2 separate regions of the Homo sapiens genome follow, and region 2 is linked to region 1. The links are contacts of gene promoters, found by promoter capture Hi-C in blood cells and fetal thymus (Javierre and others, 2016). All regions are on one chromosome and are shown on one strand. Each heading gives the region's core, a stretch centred on a gene start or on the middle of the fragment in contact. The rest is flanking DNA. Distances are from core to core; before and after follow the strand shown. Region 1 holds the start of RNF122 (ring finger protein 122). Region 2 overlaps VPS37A (VPS37A subunit of ESCRT-I).

Region 1 (3,003 bases), core at 222-2,721:
ACTAACTTAGAAGCATCACCCAGGCCTGGGGAGAAATGGGGCGAGGGGTTGTCGCGTCTGGAGGTGTGGCCTTCACTTGGGCTCAGGAGCAGACACCCTAATCTGGCCTTGTGGCCAGAAACACGGCTCCCGCCAGGCCAGCCTCGCACCCCAGGGACAGCCGGGCGCGGAGCTCTCTGCGAGGGTTTATCAACTCAGGAAAACGGCTTTTTTTTAGATGGAGTTTCGCTCTTGTTGCCCAGGCTGGAGTGTAATGGCACGATCTAGGCTCACTGCAATCTCCGCCTCCTGGGTTCAAGCGATTCTCCTGCCTCAGCCTCCCAAGTAGCTGGGCTTACAGGCATGCGCCACCACTCCCGGCTAATTTTGTATTTTTAGTAGAGACGGAGTTTCTCCATGTTGGTTAGGCTGGTCTCGAACTCCCGACTTCAGGTGATCCGCCCGCCTCGGCCTCCCAAAGTGCTGGGATTACAGGCGTGAGCCACCGCGCCTGGCCGAAAGCGACTCTTTAATCCAGTCTTCCGCAAGCACCCAAGCCACGCCAGCAGCCCGTGGGAAACCAACAAAGCCAGAGGAAGCTACCCCCGCGCCCAGTCCCGCACGCTGCACGGTATACATATTTACAATAGCCTGCAAAGTTTCAGGCCGGGAACTTGAGCTCCCTCTAGGAGATCCCAGCCCGAGTGCGGATTTAATTCTCCTCCAACAACCACAACAAAGAACAGAGTTTGAGCGCACAAAGGCAGGGGAAGGGGGTAGAAGAGCCGGGCCGCCACACAAAGGCCGGGAACCCCTCGGCTCCCACGCCCCCGGCCCGCCGCCAGTCCGGAGGCCCCTTCCAGGCTCTGGAGTGAAACCTGGATAGTTTCAAATTCCGCGCTGTGCAGAGCAGAGTGGGGCGCCAAGACGCCTTCTCGACTGTCCCATTTCAGGAGAAACTTGGTTCCCGAGGGAGGACCAGCGCGCTGCTGTCCGACCTCGCACCCCGCGCCGCGGCTCCCACCAGCCCCACGTAGGCTCGGCCCTCGCCCCGGGGACTCACCGTTACACCACTGGAATGGGTGCATCAATGAAGTCGCGGTTGGCTTCCTCGGGCGAACGGACGCAGGCGGGGTGCCAGGAGGGCGGGGTGGGAGCACTAGCGGCGTGAGGGGCCGCAGGCGGGGTCGGGGCAGCGCGCTGCAGCCGCCCTGCTGGAGAAGCCGAACTCCCTCCGGAGTGGGGGGCTTTGACGAGGCTGGTGTTCAGCCCAACAAAGAGGGACGAGGAGGAAACAAACAAAGTCCCGCGGAGCACAGCCGCACGGAGCGCACGCGCCAAGGGCCCCGGGCTGGGGGAATGTGGGGCGCCGCGGGGCGGGGGTGCCCGGGCTGCAGAAGCCCTCGGCCGGGGGAGGAGGGAAAAACCTTTGCCGGAGGCTCGGATCGGGTTCAGCGGCGCAGAGGTGAGCTGGCTGGGGTTCCGAAACTGACACCCGGCGGTGCACACCCCCTCCCTTTTACTTCCCCCACCAGTCCCCAGGAAAACTCCGCCCCTTGTTCGTCACCCTCCCTCCGACCAATCGGAGCCTTTCTCCTGCCCCCGGCTATTATTTGCAGGCCCAGCCTCCCTTCCCTGGAAGCCGGGAGGATCTTCGCACGGTGGGCGCCTCCCACTTAGTCTTCCCAGGCCTGGGGAAACTTCGGTCTGCAGAGAATGGAGCGGCGACGAGCGATGCCCCGGAGTGGGGGCCTGCCTTTTGCCCAGGGACACCAAGGCAAAGGAACAATTACTGCCACATTGTTTTCCGCCTACAGATCTGTTATTTATTTACTTATGTATTTGGAGGCAGAGTCTGCCTCTATCGCCAAGGCTGGAGTGCAGCGGCGCGATCTCAGCTCACTGCAACCTCTGCCTCTCGGGTTCAGGTGATTCTCCTGCCTCAGCCTCCTGAGTAGCTGGGATTACAGGCGCTTACCACCATGCCCAGATAATTTTTGTATTTTTAATAGCGACGGGGTTTCGCCATGTTGGACAGGCTGTTCTCGAACTCCTGGCCTCAAGTGATCCTCCTGCTTCAGCCTTCCAAAGTGCTGGGATTATAGGCGTGAGCCACCGCTCCCGGCCCTCTTTTTCTTTTTTGAGTTAGAGTCTTGCTCTGTCACTCAGCTGGAGTGCAGCGGTGCAATAATAGCTTACTGCAGCCTCCAACTTCTGGGCCCAAGCAGTCCTGCCACCTTAGCCTCCCAAGAAACTGGGACCACAGGTGCCTGCCACCAAGCCCAGCTACTTTTTAATTGTTTTGTATAGATGAGTGGCCTCACTATGTTGCTCAGGCTGGTCTCGAACTCCTGGACTCAAGTGATCCTCCCGCCTGAGCCTCCCAGATTGCTGGGATTACAGGCATGAGCCATGGCACCCAGGACATTTCATTTCTTAATTGGATAATTGCAAAAGCTTCCTAACTGGCCATTCTGATTCTAGTCTATAGCTCAGACTTCAGAGCCTACAAGAATCACTCCTATGTTTGAGATGTAACATGCAGATTCCCAGGCCTTGAACCCAGAGATTCTGATTCAATAAAGGGTGGACCCAGAAATTTTCATTTTAATGTGCCTTGTCTTCCCCACCCCTCAAATTCTCATGCGGCTATTGAAAGAAACAGTGCTCTGATTTCACTCTCAAGTCCATCCCTTCTGGTCACAATTATCTCTGTAAAATGTAAATCTGAACATTTCTTTGCTTGATAACGTTTGTTGGTCTCCAGTGTTTACTGAATAAAGTTCTGTAAACTAGAGTGTGGCATTCAAAATGTTTCAGTCTAGACTCACTCCTATAATCTCAAAACTTCGGGAGGCTGAGGCGGGCAGATTGCTTGAGCTCAAGAGTTTGAGACCATCCTGGGCAACATGGTGAAGCCACCTGTAAAAAAAATACAAAAATTAGCTGGGCCTGGTGGTGCGCACCTGCGGTCCCAGCTACTCTGGTGGCTGAGGTGGGAGAATCACTGGAGTTCGAGAAGTC
Region 2 (2,788 bases), core at 50-2,549, about 16 Mb before region 1:
CTTCTTTCTACTGCATAGAATCAGTGTGCTTGAATCTTTGCCTCTTAGCCTATAAGCTTCTAGCCAGCTTATTGTTTGTAGATCTCTCATAAGCTTACCTACAACTTATCTGTCTCTGGCAGAACTACTTCTGACTTTCCATTTAGAAAGCAAGTCCATTCCAGACAGTTAGTTTCTTCATAAAATTAGGCATGATGCAGGTAAATAACCTAAATTATTATCTTGCACACAGGAGATGTAAACAGCAATTGTTACTGTATTTTGTTCTTGTCCCTATCTTTAAAATAGTAGTGCCATTCTCCCTAGTCTTTAAAATTTGTTTTAATATTTTCTTTTGCTGCCAGTCTGCGGATTCCGTTGTTCTGATTGCCTAAATGTTTAGCCTTAAAACTTCTTGTAGAGTCAGCTCTTGTATAGTTCTCCCCCACAGCTGCTAAGCTTAACGTTTTGATCACAGCTATAAGACTTTGTCCCCCTATCTCATGGGATTCTGAGTAAGCTTAAATTCCATGCTCTTGTTTCTATAGAATTCATTCTCAGCTCATGAGGACTCACACACAAACTTGGTAACACAAGAGATATTGTAATGAAGGGATGTGTATGTCTGTGTTTCAACCCGTCGCATGTTATATATTTTTATGAAAAGCATTTATTATCAACAGTCAAAATTTGCAATTTTTGTATTAAAATTTCCAGGTTTCCTTTTTATTTATTTATTTTTTGAGACAGGGTCTCACTCTGTTACCCAGGCTAGAGTGCAGTGGCACGATCACAGCTTACCGCAGCAATCCTCCCACCTCAGCTTCCCAAGTAGCTGGAACTACAGGCACATGCCATCATGCCTGGCTCATAAGTTTAATTACTTTTGTTGTTGTTGTTGTTGTTTTGGTAGAGATGGGGTTTTGCTATGTTGCCCAGGCTTGTCTCTCAAACTCCTGGGCCCAAGCACTCTGCCTGGCTTGGCCTCCCAAAGTGCTAGGATGACAGGCATGAGCTGCCACACCCAGCCCAATTTTTCTTTATTTAATAGACTTTATTTTTAGTGTAGTTTTATGTTCACAGCAAAATTAAAAGGCAGAAGATTTCCCCTATGTCCCCTGTCGTCTCTAACTCTTCTTTTAAAATGGAAAATCTGGAAAGATTGGTTTCCACATAGCAACATTTGCTTCAAGCTGAAGAGTAGCTGTCTGCTTTGCTGGGCTACCCACTACCCATTTCACTAGTTTGCAATTCACTCCCTGTTGGACTACAAGGAGCTGCCTTCATTCATGTGTGTTACCTCGCTGGTGTAGTTATTTGATAGGAAAACTTCTTTATGGAAGGAAATAACATTAACTTGTAATAAAAAATTCTACAAGCATCTGTTATGCCTTAGCCCATTGAAGCTACAGAAATCTCCAAAATATCAACATTTTGACTGTGTAAATGCACTTTGAGCTCTATATAGTAAACTTTAAAATTATGCGTATCAATCCTGTAATTAAGTTAAAACTTTGACACATTAAATTATATTGTCTATTTGTAACCAGTGATTAAGACGTATAATTGCAGAGCGTATGACGCAATAAAGCATGGTACCATTTAAGAAATATCATACAGCTCAAGTGCTCAGTTAATTTTCTCATTAGAAATATTAGTCCGTTACTGCTTTAAAAAAAAGTTATGATAAGGCAGTCATTTCTCCATTGCTAGTTAAATCAGCTACATCTGCCCCTCCCCCCAACCTGAACTCCTTCCAAACCATTTCTGCTGTTTGCTCACCTAAGCCGAAAACCTGTGCCGTCTTCCATTTCCATTCAGTCTTCCATGTCTACTACCACAAGGTTCTAACAGTTCTCTCTGCCTCCAGCCTTTTTCCCTCTGCCTTTTCTTCCACATTGCTGCCAGAGTAATCTTTCTAAAATTCAAATTTGACCATGTCACTCCTTTCAGTAGTTTCCTAACTCTTGTCAAAAAAGGCCAGCCACCTTAACTTGATTCCTGGTTGTCACAGAAGATGGTGATGTGACTGGTGGAAAGATATCAACAAACAGAATGTAACGTTTCATATATGGCAAAGGCTATGGAGACTTTTGGAGAACTTGTGTTATTTTGTATCTGAAGCTTTTCTGATAGGGCTTCTCCATTTAAAATGTACACTGTATTTCCCTGATTTACTTTTCTGAGTATTAACTCTTTTAAATGTAACTCAGATATTATTTTTTCCAGAAGACCCCACTGCCGCTAGGTTAGGTGCTTTCTTCTGTGTTTTCATAGCTCTTTGTACATCTCAGTCATTATCATGTGTTCTATTAAAAAAATGTGAAATAAGTGCTCCATGTTAACACAGATTTCGAAAACAAACACAATTTACTTTGGAATTTCTCAAAATCTTTAATGTGCTAAAGTGGATCAGCATTCTCCAAGAGACAGCTATAGTATGAAGGATTTTCCAAACAACACTGAACCATTTTTGGAGCTATTTGTTTTAAATTTCCAGTTTCTTGCTTTTTCATTCTTATATCAGTTGTGTAAGTATGTGTGTGTGTGCAAGTGCTGTTGTCTTTTGTTGTTCTGATATTACATAAATTTATAGTCATCTTGTCTTTGCTCTTGAGTTTTTTATGTTTCAATTTGTTGAATTTGGTGCACAGTTTGCGTGATTTTTTTTTATTCAAACCTTTATGACGTTCTCGTTTCTGTATTTGAGCTTCCCTGTTGACTTGTTTGTGAATACTTACTGTTTGCCATAGTCTGCTTCTGGTGATGAAGAATAAGAATGACGAGTCCTTAGGTAGGGCAAGTTGAT

Evidence for each region. Contacts are between HindIII fragments. The CHiCAGO score rates a contact against its expected background, and 5 or more counts as called.
Region 2: a fragment that was not itself captured here is called in contact with the fragment with the promoter of RNF122 in region 1 in 1 of 17 cell types (M0 macrophages); the score reaches 5.7 in M0 macrophages.

What each region holds. Positions count from the first base shown.
Region 1 is chr8:33,565,657-33,568,659 of GRCh38, forward strand. RNF122 (ring finger protein 122) reads right to left here and starts at 1,472. Exons shown (of 6, transcript NM_024787.3): 1 at 1,043-1,472. The coding sequence starts at 1,067. RefSeq lists silencers at 847-896, 1,037-1,086, 1,117-1,186, 1,237-1,356. The HindIII fragment of the contact is 8,620 bases long and covers 1-2,434 here.
Region 2 is chr8:17,251,469-17,254,256 of GRCh38, forward strand. All of the region lies in intron 1 of VPS37A (VPS37A subunit of ESCRT-I), which reads left to right. Among named protein-coding and RNA genes, the nearest start is that of VPS37A, 5.9 kb to the left of the region's middle. The HindIII fragment of the contact is 1,604 bases long and covers 498-2,101 here.